Regions from separate parts of the Homo sapiens genome. Here all the other regions are linked to region 4. The links are contacts of gene promoters, found by promoter capture Hi-C in human tissues and cell types (Jung and others, 2019). All regions are on one chromosome and are shown on one strand. The core of a region is centred on a gene start or on the middle of the fragment in contact, and the rest is flanking DNA. Distances in the headings are between cores, read along the strand shown.

Region 1 (2,956 bases), core at 1-2,500, 380 kb after region 4:
TCTGGGCTGCTCGCTCCTTGGAGAGTGCGTGCTCCTTGGTTTGTTCCACCTGCACATTCAAAGGCCCAGACATGAGACTGGTTTACCGGACATGGGGAACACTTGGCAAAGAGAAGGCTGGGCCCACTATCTGGTCTTGCAGACAGCACTTGCACATCATTGTGGACTGTGTTCTCTAGAACGCTGGGGCAGGAACTAACTATGGGGACTATGCCTGCCACCCAGCTTTGCCAGTGCTCCAGGAGTCACCACCTAAGATGTGGTAAGCCTATGTGAGGCTCAAGAGGGTAGTGAGTAAATGAGCAATCATCAGATATCAAGTGCTGAGCCCTCTACGATGAAAATGTGATCCTTACAACTAATTCATGAAGCGGGTACTACTGTGTGCCCATTTTTCAGATGGAGAAATAAGCTGAGAGTTTAGGTGATTTGCCCAAGGTCACAGAGCTAGTCATTCATGAAATCGGGACTGACCTGCCTCCTCGCATCTTCAATGGCACTCTCCAACTGCCTTGCCAGGGTCCCACATTCCCGTGTTTTCTCCTCCAGCCGCAGCTGGGACTGGTGGATTGCCTCCTCCCTCTTGGCAATCACCTGTAGGAACTCGATATTCTGGGCACTGGTCGCCTCCAGTTTCCTAGGTGAAAGCACTCAATCAGATCCTGGGCATACCCCAACCTGTCATGTTCCACCCCGCCAGGGGGCTGCCAGCCTCTCCTGGACTGGGGATCTCATCATGCCAAGAATCTCCAAGGAGCCACAGGAATAAGCCAAAGAAATCTGCAGATCAGCAAGGCGACCAAAGAACTGTGCAGCTGGAGCAACTGGTTAGAGAACAGAGTGAAGGGTGGGAACGCAGAGACTGACCGTGGGCTTTGTTAAGTGTGGATAGCATCACATGGAACACAGCAACTTGCAGCTCAGAAAAATGGTACCATTATTATCCCCACTTCAGAAATGAAGAAACTGAGCCTCAGAGAGGGGAATTCATTGGCCTGAAGTCAGCACAGCTGGCAAGTCTGTAACCAAAACCTAAGCCTGCAACTTCTGCTGTTCACTGCTGCCTCCCACAGCAAAGGGACTTCAGCTACACCACTCAACATCTTGTGTGACCAGCCATAGGGCAAATATGGCCATCCCGATATACACACACTGTCCTCAGTGCACTTCCAGGATGCCTTCCAATTTAAGGAGCTCTGCAGGGCCTGGGGGATCTAGCTGCCATTTCCAAGGCTGGCAGGGCAGAGCAGAGGTGGAGCCTGGAAGGAGCCCACTTGGTTGTAGCCTCCTTGCAAGTGCACTGGCCACCTGAGGCACTTAGGGCCTCCTAGGATGTCAGGCACCTTCACCTCTGAAACTAAGGCTGGGACCAGGGCTGGAGGACTCTTGCCCACCTCTTTTTTTTTGAGATGGAGTCTTGCTCTTTCGCCCAGGCTGGAGTGCAGTGGTGCTATCTCGGCTCAATGCAAGCTCCGCCTCCCGGGTTCACGCCATTCTCCTGCCTCAGCCTTCCGAGTAGCTGGGACTACAGGCGCCCGCCACTGCGCCCGGCTAATTTTATACATATATATATATATATATATATATATATATATATATATATTTTTTTTTTTTTTTTTTTTTTTTAGTAGAGACGGGATTTCACCGTGTTAGCCAGGATGGCCTCGATCTCCTGACCTCGTGATCCGCCCGCCTCGGCCTCCCAAAACGCTGGGATTACAGGCGTGAGACACCACGCCCGGCCTCTTGCCTACCTCTTAGAGATGCTCACAGAAGCTCTCGAGGAAGACAGTCACGGGTCTAAGTCATGCTTTGCCAGGTACCAACAGTGTGATGCTGGGAAAGTCACTTAACTCCTCCCCAAGCTCAGTTTCCTCATATTTAAAACTGGGATAATACCAGCTAACTAATAACATGTTCTAAGCTATACTGAGCGCTTCTCTATGCCAGGTAACATGCTAGGACCTTTACCAGGATTATATCATTGAAGACTCACACCACCACCATGAAAAGATTATTATCAGCCAGGTGTGGTGGCTCCCGCCTGTACTCCCAGCACTCTAGGAGGCCTAGGTGGGTGGATCACTTGAACCCAGGAGTTCAGGACCAGCCTGGGCAACACGGCGAAACCCCATCTCTACAAAAAATACAAAAATTAGCCAGGCATGGTGGCATACGCCTGTAGTCCCAGCTACTTGGGAGGCTGTGGCAGGAGAATTGCTTGAGCCCAGGAGGTCGAGGTTGCAGTGAGCTGAGATTGCACCACTGCACTCCAGCCTGGGTGACAGAGTGACATGATAGATAGATGATAGATAGATAGATAGATAGATAGATAAACTCTACCTTGACCCTTTCCTCAAAAGGAGGAAATTGAGCTTCAAAGGAATTAAATGATTTGCTCAAGATCACAATGCTGGTAAGTGGCAGAGCTGGGCCCCAAGGCCAGGGCTTCTGATTCCCAAAGCCGTACCCTTCACCTCTGACTGCCTCCAACAATCCGTAAATAACAGAGAACGGTCAGATCAGAAAGGTCTTGGGAAGGGTGACTGGCAAGAAAGGGCAGAAAAGAGTGGGGAAGTGCCCCCACCACAGTATACTGGCTGCTCCATTCAAACTGGGCCCTCCTGGCAGGCCTGGACCAGGCATGCCTTTTGGGACAGGTGGTGCCTACAGGTGGGCAGATCCTGATCATGCTGTCATGGAGTGTCTCCCCAGGCTGAGAGGCCCCCTTGCTCTCTCCCACAATGCTTACCACTGAAATGGAAGCAGCTTTTCCTCTGAGGTCTGCCTAGTACCTTCCAGGGCCTCGAGTCCCTCAACACTTCCGCACACTAAGCAAAAAACAGCTAAGTGGCTGAAAGTCTCAGGTCCTAGGAAGAGGACAGAGATGGGACCAAGTGCCTCTAACCTCTCCAGTTCATCCACCTTCAGACTCAGCTGTTTATTTTCCTTCTGG
Region 2 (2,915 bases), core at 111-2,610, 440 kb after region 4:
CTAACTGGTCTCACTGTTTCTTCCATGGACCTGCCTACAGTTTATTCTCAGCACAGTAGCCGGTGTGATCTTATAACACTACATGAGATCATGCCACATCTCTGCCAGGGTGATCATGTAAAAATGTAAGTTAGATGGTTACTTCTTTGCCTCCATCTCTCTGGGGGCTCCATCTCAGAGTAAAAGCCAAAATGGCCTTCATGGCCATCCCTGCTCTGGCCCCAGCCTTGGCTCTATCAACTCTAGACACTGGTCCTCCTCTCTTCTGCACTGTCAGTCCTGCTTCTGCCTCAGGACCTTTGCATATGCTGTTCCTTCTGCTTGGAAGCTCTTCCTTTTGCTATCCCCAAGGCTCAGCCCCTCCCCTCCTTAAAGTCTTTTTTTTTTTTTTTTTTGTCTATTTTTTTTTTTTTTTTGAGACGGAGTCTCACTCTGTCACCCAGGCTGGAGTGCAGTGGTTTGATCTCGGCTCACTGCAACCTCTGCCTCCCAGGTTCAAGCAATTCTCTTCCTCAGCCTCCCACGTAGCTGGGACTACAGGCGCCCACCACCACACCTGGCTAATTTTTGTATTTTTAGTAGAGACGGGGTTTCACCCTCTTGGCCAGGCTGGTCTTGAACTCCTGACCTCGTGATCCACCTGCCTCGCCCTCCCAAAATGGTGGGATTACAGGTGTGAGCCACCCTGCCTGGCGAAGTCTTTTGTTTTTGAGATGGAGTCTCACTCTGTCGCCCAAGCTGGAGTGCAGTGGTGCAAGCTCAGCTCACTGCAACCTCCACCTCCCAGGTTCAAGTGATTCTCCTGCTTCAGTCTCCCGAGTAGCTGGCATTACAGGCGCCCGCTAGCACACCTGACTAATTTTTGTATTTTTAATAGAGATGGGATTTCCCTATGTTGGCCAGGCTGGTCTCAAACTCCTGGCCTCCAGTGATCCATCTGCTTAGGCCTTCCAAAGTGCTAGGATTACAGGCATGAGCAACTATGCCTGGCCCACTCCTGCGTCTTTGTTCAGGTGTTAACTTCTCAGATCTTACTTTGTATCTCTCCGCTTCTCATTTTTCTCTATAGCAATTCACACCCTCTGATCTTTCTTTGTTTTTGTCTGCATCCCTCATTAGGATGTCAGTTTTGGCCGGGTGTGGTGACAGAAGGTGATAGAGTGAGACTCCGCCACAAAAAAAAAAGAAAAAAAAGAATGTCAGTTTAATGAGGTCAGGGGTTTTGTCAGTTTCATTCACTGCTGAATCCCCAGGGCCTGACTGCGGCCCATGGGAGGTGCTTAATAAAGGTTAACAAATGAATGAAGGGGACACCTGGAGCCTGGAGAGAAGTGAGTCGCTCAAGGTCATAGCCATCCAGAATGAATGACTTTCATCTTAGAACGAATAAAGCACCGAGTCCACAGCTCCAGCCCAAGGTCCTTCTCACAGCCGTGCCAGGTCCTGGACCTCAACCCCAGGACAGAGCCAAGGGATACCCCAACCTCAGGGAGTGCCTGTCAGGCTCTGCCAGGACTGGAGTGCTCACACAACCAAGTCAGGGGGCCACATGGAAGAGGAGCAGGAACGGTGGAAGCCAAAGCAGCCATGGCCAAGGCCAGGAGCCATCTCCCCTCCCACCCCTCCAGCTGCCTGAGTGCAGGCATGACAGACAGCGGCTGGGCCCAGAAGCCCGACTCTCTGGGGCCAGGGGAGAGGCCTGCAGTTCCCATCAGAAGAGCAGAAGACGCAGAGCTGCTGCGGGTTGCCCCAGCACCAATGGGAGCTTCCCTATGGCCCATGCTTCCTTCCTGGTGTTGGCCCCAACCCAGCAGAGAGCATCCTGGCCAAGTCCAGGCTCTGCCACCTTGCGCCCTCTGGTGGCCACATTGGTTAGTGCCAGAGGGGAACCCAGGATCTCCCCCAGCCCCTCCCAGGCGGTTCCTCTTCCCCTAAGCCAGGGTTTCAGCTGCACAAGAGATGATCCAAAGGGCCGGGGGACATCAGCAGCCCTTGGACTGGCTGGGCCCACCCTGACCAGCAAGGTGAGGCTGGTAATGACTTCGGGGATGACCACATCAGCCCCAACAGGTGAGCACTCACTGTGAGCCGGGCTCAGGCTAGGCCACTCTATACCCAACCAGCCACAATGACCGAAGAGTAGACTAAGGCCCAGGGAAGGGATGGCACCCACCCAAGATCACCCAGCACAGAGGTGATGCTGGATCGGCCTGACTCCTCACCTGTCCTCCCCTCTCTGTCCCTCCAATTGCTCAACCATAGATCAGGAAGCCTCCTCCCAGGCCAGCTGAGATGCAGAGGCTCAGCCATGAGTTAAAAAATATAAAGTAAAAATACAAAAATTAGCTGGGCGTGGTGGCACATGCCTGTAATCCCAGCTACTAGGGAGGCTGAGGAAGGAGAATCGCTTCAACCCAAGAGGCGGAGGCTGCAGTGAGCCGAGATCACACCACTGCACTCCAGCCTGGGTGACAGAGCGAGACTCTGTCTTAAAAACAAACAAATATATATACATGTATATATATGTATGTATACATATATACATGTATATACACGTATGTGTACATATATACACGTATATATACGTGTATATACGTGTGTGTATATACGTGTATATACGTGTGTGTATATACGTGTATATACGTGTGTGTATATACGTGTATATACGTGTGTGTATATACGTGTATATACGTGTGTGTATATACGTGTATATACGTGTGTGTATATACGTGTATATACGTGTATGTGTATATACGTGTATATACGTGTATGTGTATATACGTGTATATACGTGTATGTGTATATACGTGTATATACGTGTATGTGTATATACGTGTATATACACGTATATATGTATATATACGTGTATATATACGTATATACGTGTATATATATGTATATATATAAAGTGGCAG
Region 3 (2,740 bases), core at 135-2,634, 400 kb after region 4:
AGCCATGCACTATCACTACCCCCATCTCAGAGGAGGAGACTAAGGCTGGGAGAAGTGAAGGCAAGTGAGGCCACACAGCTGGAAGGGGTAGTACTGGGCCCTGGAGCCGACTCGGACTCCAGAACCAGAGCAGTTCCCCACCACACTGAGCACTACCCAGCAAGCACCGAGATGGTGAGGGAGCCCTGAGCACAGATGGGCACCAAGGAGCTGAGCCTGGACAAAGCACAAAACACCACTTTTGGGTGGGAATTCAAATTAGCTGACCCTTCATCTCCAATTGAAGATGGGACTCCAGGATGACAGAAGCTAAGAAACCAAAAAAGGAGAAAACTGGCTAGAGCAAGAGGCTTTTTTTTTTTTTCCTTTTTGAGATGGAGTCTCACTCTGTCACCCAGGCTGGAGTGCAGTGGCATGATCTTGGCTCACTGTAACCTCTGCCTCCCGGGTTCAAGCGATTCTCCTGCCTCAGCCTCCTGAGTAACTGGGACTACAGGAGCGTACCGCCATGCCAGCTCATTTTTTTGTATTTTAGTAGAGATGGGATTTCACCGTGTTGCCCAGGCTGGTCTCAAATTCCTGAGCTCAGGCAATCTGCCCACCTCGGCCTCCCAAAGTGCTAGGATCACAGGCGTGAGCCGCCATGCCTGGCTTTCTTTCCTTTTTGAGATAGTGTCTGGCTCTGTCATCCAGGCTGGAGTGCAACAATTTCAGAAGCCGAGGCAGACAGATCACTTGAGGTCAGGCGTTCAAGACCAGCCTGGCCAACACAGCAAAACCCTATCTTTACTAAAAATACAAAAAATTAGCCAGGTGTGGTGATGCACACCTGTAATCCCAGCTACTCAGGAAGTTGAGGCAGGAGAATCGCTTGAACCCAGGAGGTAGAGGCTGCAGTGAGCTGAGATTGTGCCACTTCAGCCTGGGTGACAGAGTGAGACTCTGTATCAAAACAAACAAAAAAATTAATAAAGCTTCCCTCTGAGGGGAGGGAGACAAGGTTATTGCAAAATGACACACAAAAGGGAATCAACTATGTAGACACTTATTTTAAAAGCTGGGCGGTGAGTGGCCGGGCACAATGGCTCACCCCTGTAATCCCAGCACTTTGGGAGGCTGAGGCGGGTGGATTACCTGAGGTCAGGAGTTTGAGACCAGGCTGGACAACATGGTGAAACCCCGTCTCAACTAAAAATACAAAAATTAGCCGGGAGTGGCACCTGTAATCCCAGCTGCTTGGGAGGCTGAGGCAGGAGAATCTCTTGAACCCGTGAGGGGAAGGTTGCAGTGAGCTGAGATTGCGCCACTGCACTCCAGCCTCGGTGACAGAGCGAGACTCCGTCTCAAAAAAAAAGAAAAAAAAAAGCTGGGCAGTGAGGATACCACTTTACATTACTTGTTATATATATATATAATTTTTTGGGGGGACAGTCTAACTCTGTCACTCAGCCTGAGTGAGTGACACAATCTCAGCTCACTGTAGCCTTGACCTCCAGGGCTCAAGCAATCCTCCCACCTCAGCCTCCCGAGTAGCTAGGACTATAGGTGTGTGCCACCACACCTGGCTAAATTTAAAATGTTTTGTACAGATGAAGTCTCACTGTGTTGCCCCGGCTGGTCTCAAACTCCTGGCCTCAAGCAATTCTCCCACCTCGGCCTCCCAGAGTGTGGGAATTACAGGCGTGAGCCACCACACTTGGCCTTATTTTATATATTAACAGGTTTTTTTTTTTTTTGAGACAGAGTCTCGCTCTGTCACCCAGGCTGGAGTATAGTGGTGCAATCTAGGCTCACTGCAACTTCCCCCCTCCTGGGTTCAAGCAATTCTCCTGCCTCAGCCTCCCGAGTAGTTGATATTACGGGTACCCATCACATTTTTGTATTTTCAGTAGAGGTGGGGTGTCACCATGTTGGCCAGGCTGGTCTCGAACTCCTGACCTCAAGTGTTCCACCTGCCTTGGCCTCTCAAAGTGCTGGGATTACAGGCATGAGCCACTGCACCCGGCCAATATATTAATTTTTAAAGATAAGGCCGGGCGCGGTGGCTCATGCCTGTAATCCCAGCATTTTGGGAGGCTGAGGTGGGCAGATTGCCTGAGTTTAGGAGTTCGAGACCAGCCTGAGCAACACAGTGAAACCTCATCTCTACTAAAAATACAAAAATTAGCTGGGCATGGTGGCACGCACCTGTAATCCCAGCTACTCAGGAGGCTGAGGCAGGAGAATCACTTGAACTCGGGAGGCCAGAAGTTGCAGTGAGCCGATATCGTGCCACTGCACTCTAGCCTGGGCGACAGAGCAAGACTCTGTCTCAAGAAAAAAAAAAAAGATAAAAACAAGGTTGACAATGTTAAAACAAAACGAAACAAACAAAAAAACAGGGCTTGGTGTGGTGGCTCACGCCTGTAATTACAGCACTTTGGGAGGCCGAGGCAGGTGGATCACCTGAGGTCAGGAGTTCGAGACCAGCCTGACCAATATGATGAAACCCCGTCTCTACTAAAACTACAAAAAGTAGCCCGGTGTGGTGGCATGCACCTGTAATCCCAGCTACTAGGGAGGCTGAGACAGGAAAATCACTTGAACCCAGGAGGTGGAGGTTACAGTGAGCCAAGACTGTGCCATTGCACTCCAGCCTGGGCAAGAGTGAAACTCGGTCTCAAATAAAAAAGCAAAAATAAGAAGAACGTCACCATTTCATTAGCACTGGCATTTTGAGACTATTGTCATCTCTTTGCTT
Region 4 (3,059 bases), core at 475-2,974:
GATTACGGGTGCGCAGCCCCATGCCTGGCTAATTTTTTGTATTTTTAGTAGAGACAAGGTTTCACTATGTTGGCCAGGCTGGTCTCGAACTCCTGACCTCGTGATCTGCCCGCTTCAGCCTCCCAACGTGCTGGGATTACAGGCGTGAGCCACCACGCCCGGCCCTGCACCCCCTGCTCTGTACCCTATGGTCCCTAGAACGCAGAGGGCATCAGACCCCATGCCAAAGCCCTGAGACCAGGAAAACAAGGAAGCAGAGACCAGCCACCCAGTCACTCATCCCTGGCATGTCCACAACAGCCTCCTCCAGCACAGGTCATCTGTCCTTGCCTCACTTCATGAGCCAGAGGAAGACTTGACCTTCATGGAAGCAACACCAGTGAGACTGAGCAATCAGCACTGCCCAGTCTCTCTGAACAAACTCCCACTCCCACATCCCCTCCACAGGAAGTATCAGCAACAGCCGATCTCCTCCCGCTTCTTACAGCCTGTCTGTCTGCCAGGTTGTCTGCTCCAAAGGGCAGAATACAGTTTGGCAGGGGTTAAGAGTACTACTAACAGAAGAGGTGGAAGAGGTCCTTGGGAACTTCGGGCTCCCCCAGTTCCCTTCCTCTTACCAGGTGCTCTCCCTCCACACCTCATTCTCAAAAGGCTTCCTGAGGTAGGGCAGGGGAAGAGGAGTCAGTGGAAGTGTGGCTCACCCAGGAACCGCCCACCCTTCCAGCCAAGTCTCCATCAGGAGGCGGCTACCAGACAACCCCCGACCCATCCCTCCTTCCCAAAAAAGGCAACAATCGCAACAGCTGAGAACCGGCAGACCTCGGTTCACCCCGGTCCAGATCAAGGGGAAGAAGCAGTCAGCGAAAGCAGCAGAATCATCATGAACTCCATGACCCCAGCTATGCCCCTTCAGCCTGGGAGCTCAGTTTGCTGGGTATCCAGCTCACCTAGGGCTGCACCAGGCCTGGACCTCACTGGATCTCGCCTCGCCCTCGGGCCCACCTGAATGCACAGGACTGGGACAGGGTCTGGGTTCTTAGATTCCGGACCGGTCTTCCCAAATATCCCATCCCAGAAAGGCCCCAAGAGCCTAGCCGGGGATCCTGCCCCCAAGTCAGGGCACTGCCCCCATCGGAACGATAGGAAGGAGGGGTGCAAGGGAAGAGAAGGGGACCAGGAACTCAGGAGAAGACAGCTAAGGAAATCTTTGAAAAAGAAATGGCAAGGAGAGAGCCCAGAGGTGGAACCTCTAGGAACGGGAGAGTGTGTGTGGAGGGGTGAGGATCTGGGGGGACCCAGGGGATGACAAGGGGACATGGGGGAGCCGAGGCGGAAACTCCTGGTTTCTGAAGCACAAGGAGGCACAGGGGTGCCTGGGAGGGGGCTCGCGCGCCGCGGAGCCGGCGAGAAGGTGGTGCCCCGGAGACTCCGGGCACTGGGGAGCCCAGAGGTAGGCCGAACACCGCGGGAGGTCCCCAGGGGGCCGGCCCGGAGACAGAGCCCCAGATGCCCCGGGCGCCCCGGGCCGGGCAGCTGGCCGAGGGCGTGTGTAAGTGGGTTTCGAGAGGTGACAGCTCGCGCCCCTTTCCCCACCCCGTCCACTCACCTGGGCTCGCCGCGCCCGGCCGCCCGGCAGGCAGCCCCAGGCCCCGGCCGCTCCGTCCCGCCGCCGGCCGCAGCGCTGCTCCGGCGCCTCCTTTTGTTTGTCCCTCACTGCACCACTCAGCCTCCTCCGCCCCGGAAGTGACGTCACCGCCGGGCGCGAACGCGGCGGCCAGGGCGTCGCCATCTTTATGAGGAGAATTCTAGCGGCGCTTTCTCCCGCTCTCGCCTCCGCGCTAGCGCCCTGCTGCTTCGGGGCGGAAGTAGCGGAGCCGGGCTCGGCCCCCTTAAAGGGACAGGGACTGCTGCAACCTACGGGGTGTACTTGGGAACGAGGGGTGAAGCGGCCCAGGTGAGGGTGAGTAGCTGTGTCGGAGCGCCACTTCCCCAAGGTCAGGTGCCGAGGCTGGGAGGGTCGGCTAACGGTTCCGAGCTTGGTTGTGCTAGAGTGCTTAATGAGTTTGATGCTACTAAGTATAACGGAGTGGCTGCACAGAATGATTGAGCCGCCCGCGGGAATCAACTGCGCGTGCTGCTCGCTGATTCTCGCTCGGACACTGGGGCTGGTCCTGTCTGCACCCAAATCCCCCTCCCACGACCGCGCCGGTGGAGATGATACCCGAGACAACAGAATTCTGGACAGATCTGGGGTTGGAATTGGGTCCCCAGACTCCAACTCTGCAGCTCCATAAATCCCGCTGGGTCCTCGCAAATTCCCTGGCTGATAACAGTACCGGCAACCAAATTAAAAAATAATCCATACAGTGGAATACTGTGCAGCCATTAAGACGAACAATGTTTAATATGCACTAATGTAGGGTGACTTCTAAGATACCTTAGGTTAAAAAAGGAAACAACAGTAAAAACAGCGTTGGGCCGGTTGCGGTGGCTCACGTCTGTAATCCCAGCACTTTGGGAGGCCGAGGCGGGCGGATCACGAGGTCAGGAGATCGAGACCATCCTGGCTAACTTGGTGAAACCTCATCTCTACTAAAAATACAAAAAAATCAGCCGGGCGTGGTGGTGGGCGCCTGTAGTCCCAGCTACTCTGGAGGCTGAGGCAGGAGAATGGCATGAACTCGGGAGGTGGAGCTTGCAGTGAGCCGAGATCGCGCCGCTGCACTCCAGCCTGGGCGACAGAGCGAGACTCCGTCTAAAAAAAGAAAAAACAGCGTTGATGGGTGCTATCCATCTTTGCGTAGAAGGACGCCTGAGGGTGGGCGTATCTGCGGGTGTGCGCGCCAGCTGTCTGATAAGATGCACAAGAAGTTGTTAATTGCGGTTGTCTCCGACAGAATTGGGGTCTTGGGTACCTGGGCCAGGGCGAGAAATTTACTACCATGTGCACAGATAGATAATTAAAAATAAGATGATGAAGATAGTCGTGGCTCCCATCCATCACGTGTTAAGCCAATGCCTAGTTTCACTTCTGTTGGGAGGTCTTATTTTTCCCTTTT
Region 5 (2,937 bases), core at 3-2,502, 430 kb after region 4:
GGCAGTTGGATGAAAACTTGGGAGGCGCTCCTCTACTGTCCAAGTCGCACAGCAACTGTCCTGCCAAAGTAGGGGGAAATAGTAGAGGCTGAGCGACCTGGGGGCAGAGGGGAGGAAGGGGAGGGGACGGGGCAGAACCGCGAGGGAAAGGACCACCGCGCCCGGGTCCCACGCGGAGGACTGCCGGTGGCTACCGGGGGAAACCTGAGGCGCCGGCGGACGTGCGGAGAGGGCGGGTGAGAACCGCTCGGCCCCAAGTGGGCCCCAGAGGGCCAGAACCGCGCAGGGAGCCGCGGGGATGCTGGGGCGGGGCCGGACAACTGTCTCCTAGGAGAAGGGGCGTTACGGAAGAACAGATGCCCGAGAGGACCAATAGTGTTTAAAGGAGGGAGGCGCGGAGGTTGCACGGGCCCCGGGCGCCCCGCCGCGAGGGAAAACCGAACAGAGTTCTGAGCAGGATAGACGCCGGGCTGGGAGGGGGCGGGCGGGACCCCCCCCCGCCGGGCGAGGGCCCTGGCAAGCCGGAGACGGTGCCCGGGGGACAGCGCTGCCTACGGAGGGCGTACAAGTGACTGCCATGTGGAGGCCCGAGGAGAGGACGAGGCGGTCGGGGCGATGCCGCCGACGGGCAGCAGAGCGAGGGAGAGCCTCTGTCGGCGGAGAGAAGGGACGGCCACCCACCAGCAGGCAGGAGGGTACCGGTTTCTGCCCATAGAGAGAAAGGTGAAGCCCTGCCCGCGGGCGGCAGAGGAGGGGCAGAGCCCCGTGGTAGCCAAGAGAGGAAGGAGGCGGCCGACCGCCCGTTAGCGGGAGGAGGAGAGGCCCCGCGCCGGTGGGCGGGGCGGGGGCCCAGGTTCTGACAGGAGGGGGACGAGCGCAACGCGGCGGGGAACCCAGGACCCGACGGCCCCGCGGGGTCGACCGCGCCGGGGGTGCGAAGGCGACGGTCTCGCCCGCGGTGCCCCGGAGGGCGCTGGATCCCGCCTGCCGGCGGCCTCTCACCAGGAGCGACACGGCTGCGCCCAGAAACGCCGCCTTATGAAGTCGTTGAAGTCGGAGGCCAGGGTCGTGCCATGGAGACGCCGCGGCGGATGCAGTCTGGCTCTGGCAGCGGCTCCTCCCCGCTTCCGCCTCCTTTTCCGACACCCGGTCGGCAGCTCGCCCATTGGCCAGTTCAAACCCCCCCGGGAGCCGCTTGGGTTTCGCCATCGAGGCCCAGCCCCTAGCGTCACAGAGATGCCCCGCCCCGCCAGAAGGGCCGCCCACTTCCGGGCCACGCGTCCCGTCACCAAGGAGACGTGCTACGCGTCCAGCGGGCCTGGCCGGGTCTCGCCCCCCATTCAAGGCCTTTCCCGCTCGGCCCTGTTTCCCCTGCCTTGGATCCTCCCGGATTCCCCTCACTCAAAGGAGCGTACGGTTCCGACGCCCTCCCCTCGGTACCCACCAGGAAACTAGGCTCACAGAGGACCCATGGAACTAGTTATTGGGAGCTGCACACTGCCTCCGAAAATCCAGCCCTGCCCCTAGTCCACTATTAATGCGGAGATGGAGTCGGCTTCTGCGCATTCCCCGGCCTCTCCCCTGCCCACATCGCCTCTGTCTTGGCCCCAACAGGAGAAAGGGTCGGCATTCCCCTTGCTGTTCTGTTCACTACCTTCCTGCACTTTTTTTTTTTTTTTTTTTTTTTTTTTTTTTTTTTTTTTTGAGACAGATTCTTGCTCTGTTGCCCAGGCTGGAGTGCAGTGGCGCGATCTCGGCTCACCGCAACCTCCGCCTCCCGGGTTCACGCCATTCTCCTGCCTGAGCCTCCCGAGTAACTGGGACTACTGGCGCCCGCCACAACGCCCGGCTAATTTTTTTTTGTATTTTTAGTAGAGACGGGGTTTCACCGTGTTGGGCAGGATAGTCTCCATCTCCTGACCTCATGATCCACCCGCCTCGGCCTTCCAAAGTGCTTGTATTACAGGCTTGAGCCTCCGCGCCCGGTCTACTACCCTCCTGCACTCTCTATGCCGCTCTGTGTACAGACCTATTCTGATGAGGTCCTTGCTGGTCCGCCATCTTCTCAATTATGCTTCACTGTCAGCCAGTCAGGGGAGGTCTGTCACGTGGCTCATAATGCCGCCCTGGAATCTGGGAGACCTGAACCACCTCCGGGCCAACTGGGCCACAGTCCCTTGACCTTTCTCCAGTGACCCCGCAGCACCTTAGCCACACAGCTCCAGGGTCACACAAGTGTTTCACCTGCAATCCTAAAGTCAGACTCGCAAACAAAACCTGCTTTTCCGCCTCGCTTTCACAGTATACTGCATACTGAATTTGTTCTGTAATGTCAGGGAGCTCCCCAATCCCTTGATCCATTCATTGTCTCTCTGTTGAATAATTGATAGATTTCCTAATCCTCATTAACCATTTAAGACTGCGGTGGCTCACGCCTGTAGTCCCAGCACTTTGGGAGGCTGAGGCAGGCGGATCACCTAAGGTCAGAAGTTCAAGACCAGACTGCCCAACATAGCGAAACCCCGTCTCTACTAAAAATACAAAAATTAACCGGGCATGGTGGTGTGTGCCTGTAATCCCAGCTACTAGGGAGGAGGAGGCAGGGAGAATTCCTTGAACCTGGAAGGCGGAGGTTGCAGTGAGCCAAAATCACCACTACACTTCAGCCTGGGTGACAGAGTGAGACTCTTGTCTCAAAAAAAAAAAAAAAAAAAAAAAAGTATATACAGGTTCAAGGAAAAGAGGACAGGAAAAGGAGGTCCCGGTCCTCCTGGGGCAGGCAGGAGATGGTTCCCAGAGGTGATGGTATTGGAACTGAGCCATGAAAGGTGAGTGGAAGTTCGCCAAACAAGCAGCAAAGGGAATTCTAAACAGACTGCAGTAGGTACACAGGTACCACATGCAGGTACAAGAGAATACTGCATATTCTATGAAGCA
Region 6 (2,818 bases), core at 119-2,618, 360 kb after region 4:
TCTTCACAATCCATGTTCTTCTGCCATGGCTTCAGCCAGTCCCTCCATTTGGGGTCCCTGACTTCCCGCAACAGTGCCCAGCTTTTTTTTTTTTTTTTGGAGTCTCGCTCTGTCGCCCAGGCTGGAGTGTAGTGGTGCAATCTTGGCTCACTGCAAACTCCGCCTCCTGGGTTCAAGCGATTCTCCTCCCTCAGCCTCCCAAGTAGCTGGGACTACAGGTGCCTGCCACCATGCCTGGCTAATTTTTGTATTTTTAGTAGAGACGGGGTTTCACTATGTTGGCCAGGCTGGTCTCGAACTCCCGACCTCGTGATCCATCCACCACGGCCTCCCAAAGTGCTGGGATTACCAGTGCAAGCCACCATGTCCAGCTATTTTATTTTTATTTTTTATTTTTTAGAGACGGATTCTCAACTCTGTCACCCAGGCTGGAGTACAGTGGTGCGATTTTGGCTCACTGCAACCTCCACCTCCCAGGTTCGAGTGATTGTCCAGCCTCAGCCTCCTGAGTAGCTGGGATTACAGGCGTGCACCACTATGCCTGCCTAATTTTTGTATTTTTAGTAGAGACAGGGTTTTACTGTGTTGGCCAGGCTGGTGTCAAACTCCTGACCTCAAGTGATCTGCCTGCCTCGGCCTCCGAAAGTGCTGGGATTACAGGTGTGAGCCAACAGGCCCGGCCCTGTGCTGTAATGATTTTAAAACAGATCTGCAAATTGTCTGACAATCCTTCCATACCCTCTACTTCAACCTGAGTGGACTTTATGACTACCGTGACTAACAGAATACGGAAAAAAAAAAAAATAGGCCAGGCACGTGAGTTTTTTTTAAGAAAATGAATAAACTGTCCAGAAACAGCTAATCAGTATGGGAACTAGTATTCCAAAACAATATGCTGGCACTTAGGAAGTCCTAAAGCTTAATAACCTTGTTTCTGATTATTCCCCTTGAATCTCTGATCTGATTACTAGCAATAAGGATCTTTAGATAACTGAGGAATCTCTATATCCTAAAAGGGATCAAGATGAACAAATAAAAAATAATGAATCCAGAAGGACATGTATATCAAGGAACACAAGTGAATCTGAAAAAGAGCTCTGAATATGATAAGAAATGAGAATAAGATGCTCTGAAAAAGGAAGAAGTGGAGAATACAAAAAAACTCATGAAAATTAGACATAATAAATACATATATATTTTTTCAATCAACAGGTGGAGAATAAAATATAGAAATCTTCTAGAAAACAAAACAATAAGACAAAAGGAAAATGAAAGAAAGAATAGGACATATAGAGGATTAACTTAGGCAATGGAGAGGTGAACTAATCAAGGGGAAAAATTTCCAAAGATGCAGGAAATAAATCTTTGAATTAAAACAACTCTGATATGCAGAATTAGTCGTTTCTCACCATCTCCATTGCTACCACCCTACTCTAAGCAACCACCATCTTTCACCCAGATTACAACAATGTTCCAAATATTTTACTTATTTCTCTTGTTTACTTCTGTCTCTTCCCACCACAATATAAGCTCTATGTCTATAATGTTTACTGTTTTATCTAGACCTGGAACAGCATCTAGCACATAGGTGCTCAGCAAATATTTATTGACTCAATGACCAATGAGGCAAGATGTTAGAAGACTTTCATTTTCTTTTTCTTTTTTTTTTTTGAGATAAAGTATTGCCCTGCTGCCCAGGCTAGAGTGCAGTGGCACAATCTTGGCTCACTGCCACCTCTGCCTCCCGGGTTCAAGTGATTCTCCTGCCTCAGCCTCCCCAGTAACTAGTATTATAGGCATGTGCCACCATGCCCGGCTAATTTTTGTATTTTTAGTAGAGATGGGGTTTCGCCATGTTGGCCAGGCCAGTCTGGAACTCCTTATCTCAGGTGATCCACCTGCCTCACCCTCCCAAAGTGCTGGGATTACGGGCATGAGCCTCCGTGCCTGGCCAAGACTTTCATTTTCTAAATTCCTGTACTCTGAAACATTTTTACAAGATCATGCATTGCTTTCCTAATTAAAAAAAAATACATGCTGGGCGCAGTGGCTTATGCCTGTAATCCCAGCACTTTGGGAGGCTGAGGTGGGTGGATCACCTGAGGTCAGGAGTTTGAGACCAGCCTGGCCAACACGGTGAAACCCCGTCTCTACTAAAAAATACAAAAATTAGCCAGGCGTGGTGGCAGGCGCCTGTAATCTCAGCTACTTGGGAGGCTCAGGCAGGAGAATTGCTGGAACCCAGGAGGCGGAGGTTGCAGTGAGCCAAGATTGCACCACTGCACTCCAGCCCGGGCTGACAACAGCAAGACTCTGTCTCAAAAAAACAAAAACAAAAAACAGGCCGGGCACGGTGGCTCATGCCTGTAATCCCAGCACTCTGGGAGGCCGAGGCGGGCAGATCACGAGGTCAGAAGATCAAGACCGTCCTGGCTAACACGGCAAAACCCTGTCTCCACTAAAAATACAAAAAATTAGCTGGGCGTGGTGACAGGCACCTGTAGTCCCAGCTACTTGGGAGGCTGAGGCAAGAGAATAGCATGAACCTGGGAGGCGGAGCTTGCGGTGAGCCGAGATGGTGCCACTGTACTACAGCCTGGGCAACAGAGCAAGACTCCATCTCAAAAACAAAAACAAAAACAAAATACAATCAAATAAATTAATTAAAATAGTGCTGCTATTTTTTCAAGAGGCTAAGGTCCTGACTGGGCATCGTGGCTCATGCCTGTAATCCCAGCACCTTGGGAGGCTGAGGCAGGTGAATCACCTGAGGTCAGGAGTTCGAGACCAGCCTGACCAACATAGTGAAACCCCGTCT
Region 7 (3,080 bases), core at 462-2,961, 460 kb after region 4:
GAGATGGAATCTTGCTCTGTCGCCCAGGCTGTAGTGCAGTGGTATGATCTCGACTCACTGCAACCTCCGCCTCCCGGGTTCAAGTGATTCTCCTGCCTCAGCCTCCTGAGTACCTGGGATTACAGGTGTGCACCACCATGCCCGGCTAATTTTTGTTTGTTTAGTAGAGATGGGGTTTCACCATGTTAGCCAGGCTGGTCTTGAACTCCTCACCTCAGGTGATCTGCCCACTTCGGCCTCCCAAAGTGCTGAAATTACAGGCGTGAGCCACCACACCTGGCCAACGAATGCATTTTGAAAGATGAAAAGTACCTCGACTTTAAGGATCACACCTGGTGCATTCCCTGGTTACCTTCGTTAGGTGGGCAGATACCTACCTATGTGACCTGTGGCTGTGTGACCACAGGCCAGCCCCTGTCCCTCTCTGAATGGGGACTAGACAGAAGAGCTGCTGCTTTCCTCCACCCCCAGGTTGTAATAAGGACCAAACCATGCTCTAAGCGTCCCTAAGAATGCAGATGGGTCCAAGCTCTGCTGTCATGGGGCACAGCCTCCCCTCTCCTGGGGAAGGGGCCCCCATAACAGAGGTGGGGGTTTAGCCAAGTGCCCAGGTTTTGGGTGATGCTGCCCCTTTAAGCCAATTCCCCAGAAATGAAGACTACGTGTCAAGTCTTACAGGGGTGGGAACTAACAAACTCCCAAACTGTGGTAATTGTGGGCGGCCTCCCCAGGCCAGGGCTCCACCCCCCCAGCCCAACTGTGGTGTGTTGAAGAGGGTGGCTTGTCATTTTTCTCAGTTTACCCCCAACCTCAGCCAGGGACTCCTCCCTGTTCTGGTGTCTACAGACCAGGGGTTGTGGCCTTCGATCCCAGTGCCCTGGGGGTACAGAGATGCCAGAGGGGAGAGGCTCCAGGAAGGGGGACTGCCCTTGGCTGACAGGATCCCGCCCCTCTACCAAGATCTACCAAGAGAGCTGGCCCCAGCACGGGGGCGGTGGGGGGGCCGGTCTGACTCCCCTGCACAGCCCGGAGCCCAGTGCTGATGGCACCCCCAACCTGTGCCCGGAAGCCTCCAGCGTGGTCGATCCCTGCCACGTTGGGCCCCAGTGGACTTCAGAGGTTCCTGTCTGCTCCTCTTCAAATCCAGCCAACCACAGGTCCCACTGGGGTTGAGCTGGGCCCTGAAGGCTGGGGTGAAAAGGGCTGGCTGGGCCCAACCTACACCCAGGGAAGGCCCCAAGAGGAAGGAGTAGGGGACCAGAAGGAGGGGTGGGTGTCCCGCGTCGGCCTGTGGCCTCAGAGGTCTGTCGTCTCCCAGCAGGGGGCTCGGGGTCCTCTCTGGCGGCTCGGGCTGGCAGGGCCGTCTGTGAGGGGAGGGGCCTGTCTAGGTGGTGTCTGGGCAGGGAGCGAGCAGACAGGGCCGCCGGGGGCGGGGGCCATCTGCGAAGCTGGGGGTTAGGTGCCCACTCGGTGCCAATGCCCGGGTCTCTCACCAGAGGGCCATCCTGGCCCGGGGGTAGTCCAGCCGCTCCAGAGCGCCCAGGTAGTGGGGCAGCGAGTGTTCGGCATTGCGGGCCAGGATGGCAAGGACCACGGCGGGCAGCGGCGACTCCGCAACGCCCGCAGCCTCCAGCCACGGCCCCAGCAGGAGCAGCAGCTGGAGCAGCGGCGCGGCGCGGGCAGCGCGCATGGCGGGCGCTTGGGCGGCTGCAGCGGCCCCCGGAGCTCTCGGGCCGGCCGAGGGGAGGGGGCGGGGCCTGGGGCCCGGGCGGGGCCGAGGCAGACCCGGAGAGGGCGGGGCAGTGCACCCTCAGAGTGGGATCCTGCTCCCCACCCCTGTGCGTGGATGCTCAAGTTTTCTCTCCTTGGCCCGGGGCACCGGAGGGCCAGGGCCCGGGGACCCGCGCCAGCCGCGACCCTGGAGCAGCCCCGCCCGGCTGGACCCCGGAGGGGCGACGGCGGAGGGGCCGGAGGACCGGACAGGGGAGGGGTGCTAGGACGAGTGCGTCGGGGCCGGCCGGGCGTCCGAGAACAGTAGGGGCTCATGGAACCCCTGGGCGTTGAACCCCCGGAATCCGGATTCCCCGGCCCACGCAGCCGACTCTTCGACCTGAGCCGCAGACCCAGAGGGGCGGCGCCCACTCGGCCACCACCTCCCGGGCTTCCCCGGCTCCCGCCCCATCCTCCGCCCCGGGCGCCCTCTGGCGGCCCTGGCGCTAGCTCCGCAGACCAGCCGGGCCACGCGTGGGCCGGAGACCCAGCGTGGGGGGCGCAGAGGGAGTCCCCCTGAGCTGGGCGCGTCCTCCCGCGGCGGTCCGCTCCTTAAGTCCCCTGTGCGTCACCTCCTTGCGTCGGTCGCCAGCACCCGCATTGCTTCGGCCCTTTAAGAGAGCACAGCCAGGCCGGGCGTGGTAGCTCACGCCTGTAATCCCGGCACTTTGGGAGACCGAGGCGGGAGGATCACCTGAGATCAGTTCAAGACCAGCCTGGCCAAGATGGTGAAATCCCATCTGTACTAAAAATACAAAAATTAGCCGGGCGTCGTGGCGGGTGCCTGTACTCCCAGCTACTTGGGAGGCTGAGGCAGGAGAATCGCTTGAACCCGGGAGGCGGAGGTTGCAGTGAGCCGAGATCGCGCCACTGCACTACAGCCTGGATGACAGACCGAGACTCCGTCTCAAAAAGAAAAAAAAAAAAAGAGCACAGCCCTCACAGCCCTCTCTTGGTCTGAGTGTAGAACTAGGGGACACCACGGAGCTGCTCACTGCGACCCGACCCGTCCGTCCTCCAAAGCAGGGGATGTTGGCTCCCCTGGAGCACCGCCGGGGTCCTTAGGACCCTGCTGGGAGGGAAAGAACTCTGCAGCCTCTCGGGAGAGGAGCAGAAAAGGGAGCGGCCTGGCGGCACCACAGATGGGATCGAACTGGGTGTCTGTCACCAACCTCAGACAGGTCCCTTTCCCTCAGGAGCCTCTCGGGTAAAATCGGGCTGATAACGCCACCCATCTGGGAGGGTTTGCAGGGATTCCTCGAGAGAATGAATGCACTGGCAGCTTTTCCCGCGTGGAGGCTTACACACAG

What was found. The method cuts DNA at HindIII sites, captures the fragments that hold promoters and counts their contacts. A contact is called where the count stands out against the background at its distance.
Region 1: a contact is called between a fragment that was not itself captured here and the fragment with the promoter of LRRC8A in region 4, in 1 of the 25 tissues and cell types used here (dorsolateral prefrontal cortex).
Region 2: a contact is called between a fragment that was not itself captured here and the fragment with the promoter of LRRC8A in region 4, in 1 of the 25 tissues and cell types used here (lymphoblastoid cells).
Region 3: a contact is called between a fragment that was not itself captured here and the fragment with the promoter of LRRC8A in region 4, in 2 of the 25 tissues and cell types used here (dorsolateral prefrontal cortex and liver).
Region 5: the fragment with the promoter of ODF2 here is called in contact with the fragment with the promoter of LRRC8A in region 4 in 8 of the 25 tissues and cell types used here (adrenal gland, dorsolateral prefrontal cortex, heart left ventricle and 5 more).
Region 6: a contact is called between a fragment that was not itself captured here and the fragment with the promoter of LRRC8A in region 4, in 4 of the 25 tissues and cell types used here (dorsolateral prefrontal cortex, liver, lymphoblastoid cells and 1 more).
Region 7: a contact is called between the fragment with the promoter of CERCAM here and the fragment with the promoter of LRRC8A in region 4, in 3 of the 25 tissues and cell types used here (dorsolateral prefrontal cortex, lymphoblastoid cells and spleen).

Annotation. Positions count from the first base shown.
Region 1 is chr9:128,496,094-128,499,049 of GRCh38, reverse strand. ODF2 (outer dense fiber of sperm tails 2) reads right to left here. Exons shown (of 21, transcript NM_001351578.2): 18 at 2,909-2,956; 19 at 475-637; 20 at 1-49. Among named protein-coding and RNA genes, the nearest start is that of GLE1, 7.1 kb to the left of the region's middle. RefSeq lists an enhancer at 2,926-2,956. The HindIII fragment of the contact is 9,273 bases long and covers 1-2,956 here.
Region 2 is chr9:128,437,747-128,440,661 of GRCh38, reverse strand. No RefSeq gene overlaps it. Among named protein-coding and RNA genes, the nearest start is that of ODF2, 17 kb to the left of the region's middle. RefSeq lists a silencer at 1,871-2,044. The HindIII fragment of the contact is 5,750 bases long and covers 1-2,915 here.
Region 3 is chr9:128,476,229-128,478,968 of GRCh38, reverse strand. The region is part of intron 8 of ODF2 (outer dense fiber of sperm tails 2); the gene reads right to left. Among named protein-coding and RNA genes, the nearest start is that of ODF2-AS1, 4.6 kb to the right of the region's middle. The HindIII fragment of the contact is 8,207 bases long and covers 1-2,740 here.
Region 4 is chr9:128,880,798-128,883,856 of GRCh38, reverse strand. It overlaps LRRC8A (leucine rich repeat containing 8 VRAC subunit A), which reads right to left and starts at 1,724. Exons shown (of 4, transcript NM_019594.4): 1 at 1,607-1,724. It overlaps KYAT1-SPOUT1 (KYAT1-SPOUT1 readthrough), which reads left to right and starts at 1,907. Exons shown (of 25, transcript NR_182311.1): 1 at 1,907-1,960. It overlaps KYAT1 (kynurenine aminotransferase 1), which reads left to right and starts at 1,907. Exons shown (of 13, transcript NM_004059.5): 1 at 1,907-1,960. RefSeq lists a silencer at 1,378-1,657 and an enhancer at 1,688-1,837. The HindIII fragment of the contact is 17,929 bases long and covers 1-3,059 here.
Region 5 is chr9:128,454,321-128,457,257 of GRCh38, reverse strand. It overlaps ODF2 (outer dense fiber of sperm tails 2), which reads right to left and starts at 1,252. Exons shown (of 21, transcript NM_001351578.2): 1 at 1,003-1,252. The coding sequence starts at 1,166. RefSeq lists silencers at 100-149, 360-509, 540-639, 770-1,079 and enhancers at 1-706, 1,300-1,349, 707-1,442, 1,480-1,569, 1,443-2,179. The HindIII fragment of the contact is 20,941 bases long and covers 1-2,937 here.
Region 6 is chr9:128,516,143-128,518,960 of GRCh38, reverse strand. All of the region lies in intron 3 of GLE1 (GLE1 RNA export mediator), which reads right to left. Among named protein-coding and RNA genes, the nearest start is that of GLE1, 13 kb to the right of the region's middle. The HindIII fragment of the contact is 4,090 bases long and covers 1-2,818 here.
Region 7 is chr9:128,419,488-128,422,567 of GRCh38, reverse strand. It overlaps CERCAM (cerebral endothelial cell adhesion molecule), which reads right to left and starts at 1,711. Exons shown (of 13, transcript NM_016174.5): 1 at 1,494-1,711. The coding sequence starts at 1,690. RefSeq lists an enhancer at 976-1,165 and a silencer at 1,426-2,325. The HindIII fragment of the contact is 34,497 bases long and covers 1-3,080 here.